Regions from separate parts of the Homo sapiens genome. Here all the other regions are linked to region 2. Evidence: promoter capture Hi-C in human tissues and cell types (Jung and others, 2019). All regions are on one chromosome and are shown on one strand. Each heading gives the region's core, a stretch centred on a gene start or on the middle of the fragment in contact. The rest is flanking DNA. Distances are from core to core; before and after follow the strand shown.

Region 1 (3,084 bases), core at 395-2,894, 490 kb after region 2:
TTGCCCAGGCTGATCTGTAACTCCTGAGCTCAGGCAATCCGCCCACCTCAGCCTCCTAAAGTGATGAAAATATTTTAAACTTCTATTGTGGTGATGTTTGTACAATTGGAAGCTTTCAGTGGGTGAATTTTTGTAAGACAATTGGAGGGAATATTTAGTAGAGCCCAGCAAAGACTGCTTGGCTGGGACTCTGATCTTTCACTGAAGGGCCAGCCAGGCAGTGAGGGAGTGAGGAATCAATACTCAGAGGACCTTCCTACCATCTCTCCCTCTGACCTCCTGCGGGGGATCCCCATTGGCTGAGCCCAGCCGGAAGCCGAGGGCAGGAAGTCTGCAGCAGTTGCTTATACGGCTGGCCTTCTGAGGCATAATGGGGAGGAGAGCATGGAGAGTGGATGGGAGGGACAAATGGAAGACACTCAGCGCACCTAGTCTGGTGACTGTGTGGTTGGGGCCCCAGTGATGGTAGAGTGGCCTCTGTGCTGCAGGGCATGTGTCACCAAGCCCCGGAAGCCCCAGGCAGGAAGGTCACCTACAGAAGAGAGGAATGTGACATTAGCCCCTGCCAAACCCACAAGAAGAAAAGTAAACACAGATCATTTGCAGCCATGAAGTGTATCAGGTTTAGAGTCCAGCCAGGCAGGCAGGCAAGAGGTGGAGAGTTCATGGATATCAGTGAGAAAGATTTCCAGATGGTTCACCTGGCTGGAGGCCGCAGGACCTGAGGCTAGAAGATGGGCCCCAGGCGATGACGATGGCTCTGCCAAAAAGGGTCTGTGTCAGAGTTGCTGGAAAGCAGCTGCAGAAATAGGCCAGCCCTGAGCCAGCCCTCCTTGTGGCCAGGAGTCCTGGGCTTTCTGCTTAGGGTGGAAACCAACCCTGCCCCACAGCATGAGTGGCTGCCTCTTGGAGCAGGGGTCACTGGGGTGAGAACAGATAGGGAAAGAATGGGATGCATTTATTATTATTATTATTCCTGAGGCATTGAACATTCAGCAGACTAGAGGAGATTACTAATTCTGATGAGTTGTCCTCTGGAGGAACTGGAGTTTGGGGGATGCTGCCATTGGACCATTGCCATTGGACATTGATGTCCATGACCAGCGAATTTTCCAATGGATCTCTTGGCAATGTCATCCCCAGTGGCAGTAGATGCTACCCGTTTGGAAAGCCAGGTAACAATACACAATGAGGGCAATGAAACAGACTTAGCCTTGGACTTAGTGTTCTGGCTCTGGGAAGTTATCCTGAGGAAGTTATTAAAAAGAGGAAATAAGCTACAGCTAAAAATGGGACAGCAGCATAAAGTACAATAGCTATTAAATTCATAAATATGAAGTCTATGTAAAAGTAGTGTTTCTGAAATAACTTTGAAAAAACATGAAAAATAATATTGTGTATACCTCTTGGTTATTATATATCATAACCCAGACTAGATTTTTGGGGAAATGTTGAAAGGAAACATGCAAATGAACATTACGATAAGCTTAAAGAGCTAGATTATGGGTGAAAAGTATCTCCTTACAATATTATAAAATCAATGAAGATTTTGTTCTTCTAATCTTAGACAACTTTAACATTTCAAACTTTAAAAATAGGGCACTTTTCTTTCTTTTTTTTCTCCTCCTTTTTACTAATGCTTGTGTTGGCAAGTGAATAATAAAAGAGAACATTTTTGCAAAACTTCAGAAGGGCCCTGGAGCTAAGGGCAGATACATGTTAGGGGAAATTTGGAGGAATAAAGAAAAGCTGTGAAAAATGATGGCAGTGGTAGAGGCAAAGGCAAAGGGGTTATAAATAAAGCATGGAGGAAGAGCACAGGCAGGCAGCGACCTGAGAGCAGAGCGATGGTGCTTCTAGAGCAGGGTGGCTTCCAGGCACATGACATCATTGAAGGCCGCTCTCACACTCATTAGCTGTTTCCTGAGTCAGGACATATGTCGTGGCTAACGGCGTGAGTGGAAATATAGAACAGGTCATTATGCTTTTGATTTCTAGTTTTATTTTAATTCTGTGATCTCAATGAAGCTTGCTGTATTATGAGGACTGCACATAGCAGGCGTTGCATAAATGTTTGTTGAATGAATGCTAAGTGTGCTCACTTTTCTTTACTTTATTCCCTGAGCACAGGATCTCACCTTGCTTTTACCTTCCTTGTTTTCCATCCACTCTTGCTCTTTTCCTTTTGCCTTCTATGACTCAAGCAGTGGGATCCTGTATGATTCTGTTCTCACACTGCTATAAATACCTGAGACTGGGTGGTTTATTTTAAAAAAGAGGTTTAATTGGCTCACAGTTCCACAGGCTGTAGAGGAAGCATGATTCTGGCATCAGCTTGGCTTCTGGGGAAGCCTTAGGAAACTTACAATCATGGCAGAAGGCAAAGGGGGAACAGGTGTCTCTCATGGTGGGAGCAGGAGCAAGAGAGAGTGAAGAGATGCCACACACTTTTAAACACCCAGATCTCAGGAGAACTCACTCACTATCGCGAGAACACCACCAAGGCAATGGTGCTAAACCATTCATGAGAAATCCACCCCTGTGATCCAACCACCTCCCACCAGGCCCCACTTCCAACACTGGGGATTACAATCAGACATGAGATTTGGCGGGACAGATCCAAAGCATATCAGCTGGGCAGATGCTTTCAGCTCCCATGGCAATTCTGACAAAGAGGACAAAAGCATGTCCAGATGCTGCTCTCCCCTCATAACTTGCTCTCCTGGATCTCAGTTCAGGGGCCGGGCCAGGAGAGCCAGGGACAGGACAGCCATGTTGACCTCCAAGGAGTCCCCTTCTCTCTTTATAGTTGCCCTCCCCAGTATCATCTGTCTGCCTGAGACATCTGTTTTCTGTCCTGCAATACTTCCTACTTGTTTATGCTGATTACTTCTATCTTCCACATTCTTCCATGCCCACAGAATCACTCAGAACCCTATCCATTCCCACTGGGTTCAGGCTCTAGTACTCTTATCTCGTTCTCTCGGATTTTCTCCTGTTGTGTTAGGTCATTTCCTCCACGCCCAGCCTTTTTGCATAGTTTTCTTGTGTGCAGGCAGCTCTCTTCTAGTCAATCACAGCTGA
Region 2 (3,070 bases), core at 205-2,704:
CATGGGTCAGAAACAATCCATGATGCATCTTCCCTGAGTAAGAGGGAGGCAAGACAGACTGCAATGAGAGGACTAGCAGTTGTAGGGGTTGCGGGGTGCAGGGATGAGTAGGGGGAGCCCAGAGGACTTCTAGGACAGTTAAACGACTCTGCGTGATGCCACATCGTGTTGTTGTACATTTGTGCAAACCCACAGGACGCACAGCGTGGAGAGTGGGCTCTGACATACGCTGGTTGGGGATGGGGATGTGTCAGTGTGGGTTCCTCGACTGGGACAAAAGCACCCTCGGTGGGGGTGTTGATCATGGGGGAGGCTGTGCGGATGTGGGGGAAGGGGGTGGATGGGAACTTTCTGTACCTTCTACTCAATTTTGCTGTGAACCTAAAGCTGCTCTGAAAAATAGTCTAAATAAAAAGGACTGAAGTTGAGGGGCTGCCCAGGGCTCAGGCTGGGGGCTGTGCTACCGTCCTATGGGGACAGTGTCCTGCAGAGTATGACGCGTGGCACCTCCTGGCCTTCTGCAGTGGACAGCCTGGGCAGCCACTCAGGGCAGCTTGGGTGTGGGGGTGGCTGTGGGCTGCCGGTGACCAAGGGTAGACCCAGCGCCCCAACTCAGTGCCAAGTGCCCTCTGCCAAGTCACAAAGCCTTTTCTTCCAAAGAAGTTGCTGGGCTCTGAGGTTCTTTCTAGTCTAATGTCCCAGGAGGGAACAACTTCAGAGTCACCACCACACAGTCGTGAATGTGTAACTGAAGACCAGAGCTTTTATTAGGATTGAAGGGAAAGGAGCCCGAAGGAGAGGAGAGGGTGGGGTGGGGGAGGCTCCAGAGTGAGTTTCTTGACAAGCTGGCTGTCAGCCATCCTGGGACGACATAGCACCGCCTTCCAGGGGGAAGCAGGTCAGCCGGGGTCGCAGGCCAGGCTTGGGGACGTCCCCCAGGGTTGCCCTCCTCCGACCGAAGCGGCCCACAGGCCTGATCCCGCGACTGGCGTACCAGGCAGGATTGATGTCAGGGGCTGGAAAGGAAAGAGCTGGAGCAGACCATGGGCACGTGTCCCCAGGGTGTGCTGTGCTCCCAGAGGCAGCGGGGCAGAGTGCACAGGCAGGGCCTCTCAGCCCAGTCGCCAGGCCATGCTGGGAGCCACCCGAGGAACAGGCACCCAGAGGTTCTGGCGAGGCCATTTCTGGGCGTGGGCTGGCTTTGGGAAGCAGGAGTTCAAAAAAGCACCAAGACTGACTTCCCTTTCCTCCCGCGCACCCCGTTCCTGCCAGGTTCTCGAGCGACCAGGCTGCACTAGGTTCTGGGGTGAGGCAGGGTGGGGTAAGGGAGGCTGACAGGGGTCCAGGCACTCACTGCGGATCTCCATGGAGTGCCGATGGGTACGACTTGCAGCTCCCCGCAGGGCCAGGCCCAGCATCAGCAGGCACAGGAGCCAGGCCCTCAGCACCTTCATCCCTTGGCTCCTCCGAGGAGGCCCCGCTGGAGGGGAGATCCAAATGAGGAGGACACGGCCTGGGGGAGAAGGGGCAGGAGCAGCGTCACACAGGCATCAGGGTGCGTGTGCACGGAGCTGGGACCTTGGGTAGAGTGAGCACTGTGTGTGAGAGAGAAGTATGTGCATGAGCCTGTGTGCATGTGAGTGCACAGCTGTGTATGTATATGTGTACAAGAGGGTGTGGTGTGTGCACATGGGTGCCTGTGTGTGTGTATGTGTGCAGATATGTGTGTGTATGTGTGTAGATGTGTGTATGTGTGCAGGTGTGTGTGTATGTGTGTAGATGTGTGTGTATGTGTGCAGATGTGTGTGAGTGTATGTGTGTAGATGTGTGTATGTGTGCAGATGTGTGTATGTGTGTAGATGTGTGTGTATGTGTGTAGATGTGTCTGTGTGTATTGTGTAGATGCGTGTGTATGTGTGCAGATGTGTCTGTGTGTAGATGTGTGTATGTGTGTAGGTTTGTGTGTATGTGTGTAGATGTGTGTGTATGTGTGCAGATGTGTGTGAGTGTGTGATGTGTGTATGTGTGCAGATGTGTGTGTGTGTAGATGTGTGTGTATGTGTGTAGTGTGTCTGTGTGTATTGGGTAGATGCGTGTGTATGTGTGCAGATGTGTCTGTGTGTAGATGTGTGTATGTGTGTAGGTTTGTGTGTATGTGTGTAGATGTGTGTGTGTAGATGTGTGTATGTGTAGGTGTGTGTAGTTGTGTGTGAGTGTATGTATGTGTGTGGATGTGTGTGTAGTTGTGTGAGTATGTGTGTAGATGTGTGTGTATGTGTAGATGTGTGTGTAGCTGTGTGTGTGTGTATGTGTGTAGATGTGTGTATGTGTGTAGATATGTGTGTAGATGTGTGTGTGTCGATGTGTGTGTGAGTGTGTGTAGATGTGTATGTGTGTAGGTGTGTGAGTGTACATGTGTAGATGTGTGTGTGAGTGTATGTGTGTATGAGTGTAGGTGTGTGAGTGTATGTGTGTAGATGTGTGTATGTATGTGTGTAGATGTGTATGTGTGTAGATGTGTGTGTAGATGTGTGTGTGTACGTGTGTAGATGTGTGTGAGTGTGTGTAGATGTGTATGAGTGTAGATGTGTGTGTATGTGTGTAGATGTGTGTGTAGTTGTGTGTGAGTGTATGTATGTGTGTAGATGTGTGTGAGTGTGTAGATGTGTATGTATGTGTGTAGATGTGCGCGTGCACATAGCCACATAGATCTCCACGTGTTCCTCTGATCTGTGCTGAGGTGGGAATAAGCACAGAAACAGCAGTTAAACCTGGCTCTCTGCATGGTCCCCCACCCGCCTGTGACCCCATTCTCTCCTCTGCGCAATGAGGTGTTAAGTGAGATGCTTCTGTGCGCGTCAGCCTCTAACGGGATCGGTCACATGTACATTGATGCTCATGATCAGAAAGCCCTCAGGAGGTGTGAGCTACGCGTTATAAAGGGGGGCTGTCATGGAACAGCCTTGGGTCCGTCTGTCCGCCTGTGTTAAGGGATCAGAAGGTGCAGCAGGCCTCTGCACGGCTGTGCATGTTGCACACCCAGGACAGCAGGTTTGTGGGGAGGTGCCCA
Region 3 (3,053 bases), core at 1-2,500, 440 kb before region 2:
AGGCAGGCGGATCACAAGGTCAAGAGTTCGAGACCAGCCTGGCCAACATGGTGAAACCCGTCTATACTAAGAATACAAAAATCAGTCGGGCATAGTGGCGGGTACTTGTATTCCCAGCTACTTGGGAGGCTGAGGCAGAAGAACTACTTGAACCCGGGAGGCAGAGGTTGCAGTGAGCCAAGATTGTGCCACTGCACTCCAGCCTGGGCAATAAAGCAAGACTCTGTATCGAAAAAAAAACCAAATAAATAAAGCTCAATCTATCTATCTACCTGTATATCTAGTTACAGAAGAGTATAAAAAAATGACAAATAAAATACTTAAAAGCATAAAAATGTTTACATTAGGGTGCAATTCAAGGGAACAAGTGGAATGAAAACATGAGTGCCAGGAGAAAAACTAGCAAAGGTTTTCCAGCCAGTGAAGTAGAGCTTATTCACATCAAAATAAACAAAAAAACAAAAAAACAAAAAACTGTGATGATGGGAGTATCTGTGGTGGTGGGCATATCTGTGGTATTTATATTCTACACTGGAAACATTTCAAAGAGTAATATAAGACTTTCATTTTTAAATGTCAATATTTACAGCACCCTGGAAGTGACATCCTATGCAAACTTTAAACTTAAAAGGCTCTGATCCATCTCAGATCAGACTGTTGAAAGAGAAGAGACAGAGACAGATGGTGGAGAAGAGGAAGTGAGTGTGAGCGGAGGCAGGAGGCAGCACAGACATGGGCACCAGGGAGTGGCCAGGACTCTGGGATGCAGGGCTGCAGACAAAGGCACAATGACAGCTATTGTATAGAGATGCTGAGACTTAGAGGAAAACATGAACATAATGAGGAAAGAAATGGACGGTTACGGGGAAAGCACCAAATGGAACGTCAACAGCTAGAAAATACAGTATCTGAAATGAAAAATTCACTGGATGCGCTTAACAGCAAATGAGACATTGCAGAAAAACAAACTGTCCAAAATGAGGCACAGAAAGAAAAGTGAACGAAGACCTGCGACCCAATGGAGGTATAATTTACACGTAGAAGTAATCTATATGTAAGACATATATGATATAGATATATAAACTAGAGTGCCAGAAAACGATCACAGAAAAATATTTAAAGAAATGTTGGCCAAATTATTTCTAAATTGGATGAAAACTATAACTCACAGATCCAAAAAGCTTAATAAACCCCAAGTGTGATAAAAAGAAAAAACCACTTCAAAGCACATTATAATCAAACTGCTGAAAGCAGTGATAAGGAGAAAATCTTAAAAGCAGCCAGAGAATAAAATGCACATCGCATAAAGTGGAACAAAGAATCACCACTAACTTGTAAGGAAAAAATACAGAAGGCAGTAGAATGATATCCTTAAAATGCTGAAACTGTCAACTTAAGAATTCAAACTTCAGCAACACTTGACAGAATTCATCACAAGCAAATCTGCACTACAAAAAAATCTTCAAGGATGTTCTTTAGGCAGAAGGAAAATAACAGAGAGGAGAAATCTAGATCTACAAAAGGGAATGAGGGTCATAAATGTTAAGTATGTGGAGACATATATTTTAAAAACAGACTGTAAAGCACAGATAATATATTCTGGGTTACAACATATGTAAAAGTAAAACAAATGAGAACTATAATATAAAGGTTGAGCTGGGAAATGGAAACATACTACTGTTTGTCTAAGCTTCCATCTTAAACATCAGAAAAAGAAGAGCAAATTAAACTGGAAATAAAGAGGAGGGAAATAACAAAGACATGAACAAAATTCAAAAAACAACAGGGCAAAATCAATGAACCTAAAAGTAGGTTCTTTGCAAAGGTCAAAAAATTGACAATCTTCTCATTAACCTGATCAAGAGAAAAAGACAAAAATTACAACATCAGTAATTAAAGAGGAGATACAACACAAACTCTACAGAACTTAAAAGGATAGGATAAGATGATACTAAGAACATTATATCAATAAATTGAAAAATGCAGATGATATGAGCAAATCCCTTGAAGGACACAAATTAGTGAAGCCCACTCAAGAATAACCTAGGCAGCCCTATATCTATTAGAAATTGTGTTTATACTTAAAATCTTACCACAACAAAACAAAATTCCAGAGACAGGTGGCTTCACAGGTGAATTCTACCACTGAATAAAGAATTAATAGGCCAGGCACAGTGGCTCACACCTGTAATCTCAGCACTTTGGGAGGATCACTTGAGCCCAAGGGTTCGAGACCAGCCTGGGCAACATAGTGAGACCCCCGTCTCTACAAAAAATAATTAGCTGGACATGGTAGTGCATCTGCCCACTACAGACGATGGGCATCTGTAGTCCCAGTTACCTGGGAGCCTGAGGCGGGAGGACTGCTTGAGCCCAGGATGTTGAGGCTGCAGTGAGGCGTGATCGTGCCACTGTGCTTCAGCCTGGGCAAGAGAGTAAGACCTTGTCTAAAAAAAAATCAATTAACTAATTAATACTAATTTTACACAAACTCTTCCAGAGAATAGGACACTCCCCAAATGCATTCAAAGACCAGAATGCATTACCTTGACACCAAAATTAGGCAACTCATTACAAAAAAAACTACAAATATCCCTCACAGACAGGTAAGGATTTGTAAAAATTCTTAACAAAATACTAATATATCAAACTGAGCAATATATGAAACCATTAACACATAATACATGATGAATTATGGTTTATCTCACAAATGCAGCTTTGGTTCAACATTTGAAAAATAATCTATTAATGTAATTTACCTTATCAACAGACCAAAACAGAAAAACCATTATGATCACCTCAGTAGATGCAGAAAAAGCATTTGGCAAATTAAGCATCCATTCATTATTGGCCATTTTTGGTTTGGGAGGAAAAAAGCATCCATTCATGATTAAAAAAAAAATACATACATACATATACATATATATGTATATATGCAAACAAGAAGTAGAAAAGAACTTCTCAACCTGATAAAGGGCATCTGCAAAAACCCTATAGCAAGGCCGGACTCAGTGGCTCACGCCTGTAATCCCAGCACTTTGGGAGACCAAGGT

The links. The method cuts DNA at HindIII sites, captures the fragments that hold promoters and counts their contacts. A contact is called where the count stands out against the background at its distance.
Region 1: a fragment that was not itself captured here is called in contact with the fragment with the promoter of PRLH in region 2 in 1 of the 25 tissues and cell types used here (dorsolateral prefrontal cortex).
Region 3: a contact is called between a fragment that was not itself captured here and the fragment with the promoter of PRLH in region 2, in 1 of the 25 tissues and cell types used here (liver).

The regions. Positions count from the first base shown.
Region 1 is chr2:237,073,611-237,076,694 of GRCh38, reverse strand. All of the region lies in intron 1 of COPS8-DT (COPS8 divergent transcript), which reads left to right. Among named protein-coding and RNA genes, the nearest start is that of COPS8-DT, 11 kb to the left of the region's middle. RefSeq lists an enhancer at 496-1,065. The HindIII fragment of the contact is 3,711 bases long and covers 1-3,084 here.
Region 2 is chr2:237,564,958-237,568,027 of GRCh38, reverse strand. PRLH (prolactin releasing hormone) reads right to left here and starts at 1,454. Exons shown (of 2, transcript NM_015893.1): 1 at 1,355-1,454; 2 at 853-1,016. The coding sequence starts at 1,454. The coding sequence ends at 853. The HindIII fragment of the contact is 10,563 bases long and covers 1-3,070 here.
Region 3 is chr2:238,007,369-238,010,421 of GRCh38, reverse strand. All of the region lies in intron 4 of UBE2F (ubiquitin conjugating enzyme E2 F (putative)), which reads right to left. The region is part of intron 4 of UBE2F-SCLY (UBE2F-SCLY readthrough (NMD candidate)); the gene reads right to left. Among named protein-coding and RNA genes, the nearest start is that of UBE2F, 42 kb to the right of the region's middle. The HindIII fragment of the contact is 3,461 bases long and covers 1-2,980 here.